Linked DNA regions of Homo sapiens: regions 1 and 2 are each linked to region 3. The links are contacts of gene promoters, found by promoter capture Hi-C in blood cells and fetal thymus (Javierre and others, 2016). All regions are on one chromosome and are shown on one strand. The core of a region is centred on a gene start or on the middle of the fragment in contact, and the rest is flanking DNA. Distances in the headings are between cores, read along the strand shown.

Evidence for each region. Contacts are between HindIII fragments. The CHiCAGO score rates a contact against its expected background, and 5 or more counts as called.
Region 1: the fragment with the promoter of ATP5MC2 here is called in contact with the fragment with the promoter of ITGB7 in region 3 in 1 of 17 cell types (neutrophils); the score reaches 6.0 in neutrophils.
Region 2: a contact is called between a fragment that was not itself captured here and the fragment with the promoter of ITGB7 in region 3, in 2 of 17 cell types (fetal thymus and total B cells). The highest score is 5.6, in fetal thymus.

Annotation. Positions count from the first base shown.
Region 1 is chr12:53,674,632-53,677,745 of GRCh38, reverse strand. It overlaps ATP5MC2 (ATP synthase membrane subunit c locus 2), which reads left to right and starts at 1,663. Exons shown (of 5, transcript NM_005176.7): 1 at 1,663-1,693. RefSeq lists enhancers at 1,172-1,401, 1,512-1,961. The HindIII fragment of the contact is 5,549 bases long and covers 1-3,114 here.
Region 2 is chr12:53,472,602-53,475,797 of GRCh38, reverse strand. The region is part of intron 14 of PCBP2 (poly(rC) binding protein 2); the gene reads right to left. Among named protein-coding and RNA genes, the nearest start is that of PCBP2-OT1, 9.7 kb to the right of the region's middle. The HindIII fragment of the contact is 206 bases long and covers 1,362-1,567 here.
Region 3 is chr12:53,205,832-53,209,173 of GRCh38, reverse strand. ITGB7 (integrin subunit beta 7) reads left to right here and starts at 1,923. Exons shown (of 16, transcript NM_000889.3): 1 at 1,923-1,972. The HindIII fragment of the contact is 16,923 bases long and covers 1-3,342 here.

The DNA.
Region 1 (3,114 bases), core at 414-2,913, 470 kb before region 3:
CCAGTTCCATTTCCCACGTACCTGCCCGCTCGGGGCGCAATCAACAACTAAAACTGGAGATTTGGGGATTTCAGAGGAACCTGTGAGAATCCTGATGGAGCTGGAAATGCGAATTTAGGAAAGACAGGCAGTCTACCACCCTCCTCTTCTCGCCCGCTTCTCCTATTTCTCCCCACTCCTTCCCCTCCCTTTCAGGAGCTCAGGGCCATAAAAATGCAGATGGAGGATCGGTGTGAAATAACGGGCCCATATAAATCCCTCTGCCGCCCGCCTGCAAGATGGATTGGCCGCATTGAAATTCCTCCGCGAGGATAATTAAACTCGGGGCCTCATCCGGGCAAAATTACATTCCTGTAATGGCGTCGCTCGGGGTCCCGGGAAATTGCTCCGTGGGCTTTCAGCGGCGGTTTTTATCGCCGGCCGGGGTGTGCCTGTCTGCGGCTCGCCTCTCCTCCGGGACCGTAAAGCTGCTGCCGTGATTTATCCTCCCCTTCTCCCAAATCCGATTAAATGGAGGAGCTCGGGGCCGGGGCGCCGCGGGGCCCGGGAGCCGGGAGGGGGCGGCGGGAAGGACGGGGCCAAGGAGGGGAGGACAAACGGCCCCTCAGAGAGTGGCGGATTTGCCTTTATTTACAGCCGCGGCTTTCTTTTTATTTTTTATTTTTTATGGGGTTTGGTGAGCTTTTCCCGTCTTTCTCGTGCTGCGTTCAAGCACGATGCAGGGACGGCAGGGGTTTGGAACTGGATAGGCCTTGTCGCCCTGTTCCAAAGGGCAGGGCAGGTCCTGTCTGGGAGACAAGGAGGCCTAGGAAAGATGAGGGCCAGGAAGCCTCCCCCACCTCCTTCCATCAGGGGAAGGGCGAGCGAAAGGGGAGAGAAAACCCACGTTCAGGAGAGCATGGGGGCGGGAGGGGAGGGCGCTGCTTATCCCAACTCGCGTAGTTGAAACCTGAGCAGAGGCTCGGGCAAGCCTGGAGTGACCTCGCAACCTTACAGCGGGTCGCAGGTGCCCGTTATTCCTAGACTGTCCCAGGAGCCAGGAAAGAGGGATTCGGATCATATTTAACCCTATCTTCTGGCTCGCTGATGCTGCTTCTCTCATGGTTTATCACCGGAATGGAAAGGAGGAAACGGGGAGTGGGGGAAAGGGCGAAGCCACCAGAAGCAGCTGCGGCATTTTGCTGACTATTCGCCCATGGAGCCGGTTTGCCATCCAGTGATGCCAGAGTCCCGGCGCGACAGAAAGCAGGACTCCCAAGATCTTCCTCCTGCTGCATTTTAGGCACTGAACCCCAATCCCGACCGTATGTTAACACTGAATTCTGAGTAGGAGTTTTGTTTTGGCAGTGTGACGACTGCGCATGCTCGGAAAGGGGACGCAAGTCCGAGATCCCAAACGCGGTACAGACCAAACCGCAGTCCACGTTACGGATCGGCTTACTCCGCGGAGTTGGCCTCATTTCTGCAGTCGGCGCTCCCTGTAGTTTCTCCTCTCGAACGCCAGGTGGAGCAACCGGCCGGATACCGCCACAGCCCTGGCAGGCGGCGCTGTGATGCCTGAGCTGATCCTGTATGTTGCAATCACTCTATCCGTGGCTGAGCGACTCGTTGGCCCGGGTCACGCATGCGCTGAGCCTTCCTTTCGCTCTTCCCGCTGCTCCGCCCCTCTCTGTCTTCTCTGCAGTGGGAGCAGGTAAGGCCTTGGGACCTAGAGCCCTCTGTGCGCTGCGCACGCGCGCGGGACACCTCACCTTGCGCGGATGCTTTGAGGCGCTTACCTTGCGTGCTCCCACCCTGGTCCTCTCGCCCTTTCTTGCTTCCGCTATCCCTTAGCCTTAGAGTTGGCTCTTCCGCGTGCCGGTGACCTCCAACCGCGCGGGCCTGGCGCCATCTTGGATGTCTCGCAGGGGGAGGATACCTTGGAGCTGGCCAAAGTTAGATCCTGGAGTGCTGCTTTTCACCTGTTCCACCCAGTCCCTGCAAACACTCTTTTCTCGCCCTCTGGCCCTTTCAGATTGTGACAACCCCCAGGCTCTCCCCTCCTATCTCTGCTTTCTCTTCTCATCCTGACTTGTGCCTTCTTTATTCTGAAATCTCCAGACTTTAGGCCCCAGAACCTCAGGTGCTCCGAGCAATGGAGATAGTGGATCGTCTAAAGTCACCAATCCCTCTAGTCAGCACCCCTCAATTTAAAAAGTAAACCTTGAACATGGTAGAAGTGGGAAAAAAAGCCAAAACATCGCCTCCCGTTAGGTTGTGGCTTGGGATAGCTAAGGCAGAAGAGAGAGGCTGGTTGCTTTGGAATCACTAGTTATTTACCAGTACCTTTCTCGCATCCCGGCACGCTGGTGAAGTTGTAAAAGTCACAAATGGTGGGCTAGAGATGAGGGTTTCTGTTGAGGCAGCAGGCCCAGAAAGGTGGGGTAAGGCCAAGCTAGTGGGGCCAGCATGAGACCCTGCCTGCCAGCTTTCCTGTGAAGGATTAATTAACCTCCCCAGATTCTGCTGTTACAAGGAAAAGAAGGTTTAAGGAAAGGAATAGTTAAGTTACTACCCCTGTGACTCATCTACACTGAGGAAAAAGCCCGTGATGATTTTGGAGTCCTGATTCTGGATAGTGCCTTTGCCCAAGTTGTAGGCTAACAATTGCAGAGTTGCCATGGTTAGATAGCCAATGGTGGGATCACTTAATTGCCACCCCTTGTTGTGGGTTTATTATATGCCAGCACCACATTAAACTCTTTATGTATGTTAATTTGTAAATGAACATACTTAATCCCCCTAAGAGCTGCATTTTACAAAGAAGATAATAAGGTATAATTCCCTTAGAAAAGAACCACCCCTTCTTTTTCTAAAAGCCTTAAAGAACTATTGGATTTTGACCCAAGAAAACCTGAATAGTACGGCAGCAAAATTGGGTTAGAGTTACATATAGGCAAAAATCAGAGTTCTAGATAGGACAAGAGTTGAAGACATCCATTAACTTAAAAGTAATTAAGGCTGGGTGTGGTGGCTCACACCTGTAATCCCAACACTGGGAGGCCAAGGTGGGAAGATCTTTTGATGCCAGGAGTTCCACAATAGCCTGGGCAAAAAATAAATTAAGAGCAATTA
Region 2 (3,196 bases), core at 215-2,714, 270 kb before region 3:
TATCTCTTTGTGGAAATATTGACAAACGACTATAAAATTCACTTGGGATTCAAAAAGCCCATGTCAGTTATACAGGCTTCCTAGCTGAATAGCCACAAGTCACAAGCCCCCAACCCTTTACCCTTCACAGCACACAGTGTACTAAGGTTCTTACTGCGCCAACTTTATTACAGCTAGAAACACAAATATGGCCAAGAAGGCCTGCTGATAGCTTAACCATTAAATAATTCTTAAAAAAAAAAAAAAAAGTTAACGAAGCAGCTTTTATTCATTAACACAGAGCCTAACACATTGTTATATTGCAAGGCAGAATAAAGCTACAAAGAAAAGTAACAAACAAGAAAGAAGAGAAAACTGTGGCTCTAGATAAAGAATTCAAGTCAGACCCTGAAACAGGCACTCAGCTGAAATGGCCTAAACCTAAACAAGGGTTACCACTCCCCCACCCCCACCCAGTTATCCCCCAAAGTAGTAAAAAGGAAACGGTAACAAGCTCACAATAGTTTCATTCTCACCAATGTTAACAAAGGAAAACAAAATGAACAAAATAATACTGGAGGAGGTGCCTCAAGGTATGCAATCAGTAGGGAGAGAATCTCTGTTTCTCGCCTTTCAGTTTGTTAGTTACACATGGCACGGCAGAGGTGGTGGTGGTGGTAGCTGAAGCCCCGGTACCCTTAGCAGCAGACACAACATTTAGAGCCAGGAGAGGGATGGGTTTCATGCCAAGCAGACTGGAGACACAAGGGGCGGTCGGAAGAGGGTTGGGGAGGCTGGAGGGTGCGTCGGAGGTCCCCGCTGTGGCGAGCGAGGGGGTGGTGGTGGAGGAGGAAGAAGAAGAAGGGGTGGAGGGTTGAGAGAGGTTGATGCTGAGGTGATCAGGGATCGTGACGGAGGCTGCCTGGGAGGAGGGTTTAGCGTTTTCTAAACTGTAACAGAGGAAAAAAGGAACAAAAAAAAAGGGTGGGTGGAAGGGAAGACCACAAAAGGGAGTAAGTACAGGACAAAAACTGCTTCAGTTATATCAGTAAGTGCCTCTGGTTGACAATTAGGAAGACCTAGTGTCAACTTGTGACAAGCTTTCTTTTAGCCTATGTCCCACCCTCTAAATATGTATATTTCCATTCCACAGAGCTACTTAAAAACTGCTATGGTGAAGAAAAAGCTGACAGAGAAAAGAAATCATAGGGCACATACTTCATGTATCTGACACACTGACCCAACCCAGATGTTGAAGGAATGATTTCGGGTAGAAAAAGATACTCATCAATCACCCAACAAGGAAGAAATGTTTCCTCTAATCAAATGTCAATTTCCTATTCTAACAGAAAATCAATTATCCCACAATTACTTGTGAAGCTTTGAATATTTATAAAGCAGAATTTTTAAAAATCCTTCCAGCTATGTATTAAAGTCTGCTTACATCTCCACAGCAAACAAACCAGTATCAGGGTGGAAAGAGACAAGAGTCCAAAGTAGGTCACTGACTAATTTCAAATTTCAAAGAATGTAGCGTTTTCAAAGAAAAATGCTGAGAACAGAAGTGTAGATAAGAACTAGGGAAGCTTTTCTGGTGGGAGGTGGTATAAAAAGTTGTTTCTGACTGATCATACTTCTAATGTGGACCTTTCAGAAGTGGAAAAGAGAAACTCAAGTATCACCTAAAAATTCATACTTAAGCGAAAATGCTGCTGCTTCCACTCCCAAAATAAGCTCCACAGAACAGTAAGGGTACATGTCTCCCAAATGCCTGTATGTGTCTAAGCCAGAACTACATATATTTGGGAAGTGTGCCTGGACAATTGAGCCCACAACGCTAAGTCTTCAAGAGCAGAAAGGCTCCTCTTAAAACCTCATTTTATTTACCTATGTCCAAGGACAGCTGCAATCCATAAAGGAAAGGGATACAGAAGTCAACTAACTATATAAAAGGACAGACTGCCACCATGAAAAATCAAGAGACAGGAGAAAATGCTCAGAATCCAGTAAAATCCTTCTTGACTTAAAAAAAATGAGAAAGGAAAAAAAAAAAAACCCTTTGACTTCTGCATTTAAACTGCACCAAGTTGAGAAAGAATAAGCTTTGTGCATGCATAATCTTTGCTTTGGTGTTAGATGAAGCTTTGAAAAGTTTTGACCCTAATCCATGGCTAAGATACCGAATTGCTATTCAGTAACAATGATCCTGAAAAGAGCCACTCTACCAAGAGAATTCTGCTTCCTTACAATGTAGCCACTGACCTATTGCAGGAGCTAGGCAAGCAGGTCACATTTAAACAGTCACAATTTAAATTACATGAAGGGCAAGCCTATCGAAAGAACAAAACAAATTCCAGCTTTCAAAAACCTGATTCTTGCCACTGAAAACTGAAAACTTCTTGCCCTCCAAAATCCTAATTACAAATAAGAAAAACAAGCTGGGCATAGTGGCTCACGCCTGTAATCCCAGCACTTTGGGAGGCCGAGGCAGGTGGATGACAAGGTCAAAAGATCGAGGCCATCCTTGCCAACATGGTGAAACCCCGTCTATACTAAAAATACAAAAATTAGCTGGACGTGGTGGCACGTGCCTGTAAGTCCCAGCTACTTGGGAGGCTGAGGCAGGAGAATCACTTGAGCCCAGGAGGCAGAGGTTGCAGTGAGCCGAGATGGAGCCACTGCACTCCAGCCTGGTGACAGAGCAAGACTCCGTCTCAAAAAAAAAAAAAAGAAAGAAAAACAATTCTTGTAATCCCAGCACTTTGGGAGGCATATCACTTGAGGTCAGGAGTTGGAGACGAGCCTGACCAACATGAAACCCTATCTCTAAAAAAGAAAAAGACCTCTTTGCAAACAACCTTGGTGCAAAAGTTTACTACTACCATTTCATTCTCAACATTAAGGACCTAGTGTGCTTGGTGGGTGGACAAGAAAACAAATCTAGGAAAGGGAAAGCTTTTCTACACAAAGAGTAGTAGCACCTCAAGATATGAAGTCTTAAGGCAAAAGTCAGACTGCTACTGGGGAAATGGTATGTTCTTAGCTAGCACTAAATAACCATAGCATATATACATGGTCAGTACAAGCACAATACAGACCACATACTTAGGAATTCCTTTCCCCTGTACTAGATTCAGGAACTCATGTAAAACTTTTATGACAAAGAGATTAAACACTTATAAGAAAGGTAAATGATAACTAGACAACATTCCCTATT
Region 3 (3,342 bases), core at 674-3,173:
GTTGAGGATGTGGGAGTAGGGGAGAGAAGAGTGGAGGGCGGAAAGCAGAAGAAGAAAGTGAAAGAAGCTCTAGAGGAAACCACAGGGCCTGTGGGGAAGGAGGGTCATTGCCGTGGTAACCCCTGGTTGTGGGGGAAGGGTATAGGTCCTGGCTATCCCATAGCCTGAGGCCAGCCAAGCCCACCCAGAGAAAGAGCCCCTCCTCTCCAATTGTCCCCTCCTAGCAGCTACACCTCTGCAATCCATCTGACATTTATTGAGCACCTACTATAAGATGGGCACTTGGCTAGGTGTGGTGGCTCCAGCAGGGAAGCCTTGTAGAGCCAGTCCCTGCCTACAAGGAGTGCTCCTTCTGGTAGGGGAGATCGACCTGTGAACACAGACCTCATGTCTAGTTCCCTCTCAAAGCTCTTAGTGATCTGTATGGGCCAGGAGCAAATCCCATTAATATTTTCCTGCTCTCCCTACGGGCTTCATCCTTGCCTTGGCTTCAGCTGTTGTTCCTGCACTCTCTGCTTCTCCCAGTTCACCTCCTCCACCCCTTTCCCAGGATCCACTACTGTGTTGGCTCCTGGTTCCCCAATCACATGCTCTGAGCCTGGCCCTATGCCTCTCTCTTCCAAGTTTCCAGTTGTGTGGACCTTGAATTTCTCAAAGCCTCTTCACTTCTCACCTCTGCTACTTCTCATCCCTACTAATTCTCTTATCAAGCCCTTACTTAGTATGTGCCAGGTAGTCTTGTAGGCAATTGATATGAATTATCTCTTTTAATTCTCACGACAATCCTGTGAGTCTTGCTGGACAGATGAGAAAACAGCTGCAGGCAGGTTTAAGTAACTCAGCTAAGCTCCTTACTACTAGTAAGTAGTAGAGCCAGGATTTGAACTCTAGCAACTTGGCTCCAGAGCCTATGTAGTCAAGCACACTTATATAATGTATCCTGGGTTTTCAAAATGAACAAGTCTGTAATTTCTGGCCTCTCTACAGTACTTACTGCCCCTATTCCCTCCTATCATGTTCCTTCCTATATAAGTAAATGGAGAGATCATGAATTTTGGAGGCAGGCAGACCTGGATTTAAATCCCAGACCAGCCGAGTGTGCCTGTAATCCCAGCTACTCAGGAGGCCAAAGTGGGAGGATTGCTTGAGTCCAGGAGTTACAGACCAGCCTGGGCAACACAGCAAGACCCTGTCTCAAAAATAAAAAACAGGCTGGGCATGGTGGCCCACACCTGTAATCCCAGCACTTTGGGAGGCCGAGGTGGGCAGATCAATTGAGGTCAAGAGTTTGAGACCAGCCTGGCCAACATGGTGAAACCCCGTCTCTATTAAGAATATAAAACGTTGCTGGGCATGGTAGTGCACCCCTGTAATCCCAGCTATTCGGGAGGCTGAGGCAGGAGAATCGCTTGAACCTGGGAGGCGGAGTTTGCAGTGAGCTGAGATTGTGCCATGGGACAGTGAGCTGAGATTGTGCCTGGGAAACAGAGCAAGACCCTGTCTCAAAAGTTAAATTAAATTAAAATAAAAAAAATAAAATAATAAAAATTTAAAATAAAAATCTTTTTTCTTTTTTTTTTTTAAATCCTAGACTAGCTACTTACTAGCTGTGGGACCTTGGGCAAAATTCTTTATTTCCTGCTTCCAAGCCTCAATCTCTGCATCTGTAAAATTGGGGCTTGGGGGAATATTAACCCCTATCTTATGAGATTGTTGTGAGGGTTAATTGTAATATGTTACGTTCAACACATGACAGGGGTTCAATAAATGGGCTTCTTTCTTCCAGATCTCTGTATTGTCCACTCCCTTGGCTCAGCCCCACCCCTATCTGCACCACCTTCTAGATCAGTCACCCCCACCAACCCCAAATCTTCCCCACCCTGGGGAGTGTCACTTCCTCCTCTGCCGTCTCCCAGATCAGTACACAAAGGCTGCTGCTGCCGCCAGAGGAAGGACTGCTCTGCACGCACCTGTGAGTACCAGGGCACCAGCCCTTCTGCCTCCTCTCCTTACAAGCTCTGGCCCACCTGGTCCCAACCTCTTGGGAAGAGGGCTCTGACCTGGATACCGAGGGTCCTGTCCAGACTTGAGAAAGGCTCTGAACTCCTTTCTGCATTCCTAAGATCCCCTGACCTGGTTCCCTCCTCCAGTTTCACAGTACCCCCACCTCCACCTCTCCAAAAGCCCAATCTCTCCTGCATCAGTTTCCCATGAGTGGGTCTGGAGGCAGGGATGTATATGAGTGCTGTCATCTGAGTGCCTGCCATGTGCCAAGGACTATACCGAAGTAGGGCAGGTATACCGATTATACTGAGGGAGGGTTCTTCCAACATCACCCCCAGCTGCTATCCCTAATGCTCTGCCTTCAGCTCAGACTTCTTCCTAATCGGCACCTTGGTCACAGACTCCACTGTCCTGGGACACTGAGGCCCAGCAGCTCAGTTCCGTCCCCTCCTTGTGACTCCCAGTGGGCAGCAGAGGGTTCTGCTTGATTTGGAAGGTAGGGATGGGTTTGGAAGAGGCTCTGTTTCTCAGCTGCTGAGGGGGGTCACAGGGTGTGTACTGGAGTCAGAATGGAGTCCAGAAAAATGGAAATAACCACTTGGTCCCAGAGAGAGAAGGGAAGACTGCAGAATACCCCTAAGGAAAGAGAAATGGGATTAGGCAGAGCCCACCAGGGCTAGTGGGGAGAGAACACAACTTTTGATGGAGATAGTGCCTGGGTTGGAGGGAGGAAAGGAGAAAGCACAGCAGAGGCCTGGCCCTGCCCTGTCCTGCCCTGCCCCTAGTTCACTGGGTGACCCTGGCCTCATGGAATTTAGGTTTCCATTTGTAAAAAGAGTGGGATGGAGTAGTAGATTCAGCCATTCTATAGTTAGGAACAGAGGGGAAAAGGAAGTAAAATAGCCCTATGAAGAAGTGGAGCAGAGAAAAGCAGCAGAGAGATGCAATAGAAGTTTTGAAATGAAAGGAGCCAGAGAGAGACAGAGAAGCAGACAGAGAAATAGGTGGCAGAACATGTATTCTCAAGGAGGGGAGAAGAGAGGATAATTGGAAAGAAAGGTAGGAAAGGGCTGTCCAGGAAGTCCCAGGGCCCCCTTTAAGGGGAGATGAGTGGGCCTAAGGTCTCTGAAAAACCTATGCGGCAGCCGGGGCTCCACTTGTGAGAGATGAGTCAAAACCCGGCTTTGGGTTGCAGCATCTCCAGCCTCCCTGACCACAGGCATGCAGAGCAAGCAGGGCTGAGGTTACGCTGAGGCTGAGCTGGGACTGGCCTCTCCCCGAGGGGTGGAGGCTCCGTTATATATGGCGCCTGAGGTCACAGGTGGTGGGGAGCAGGAC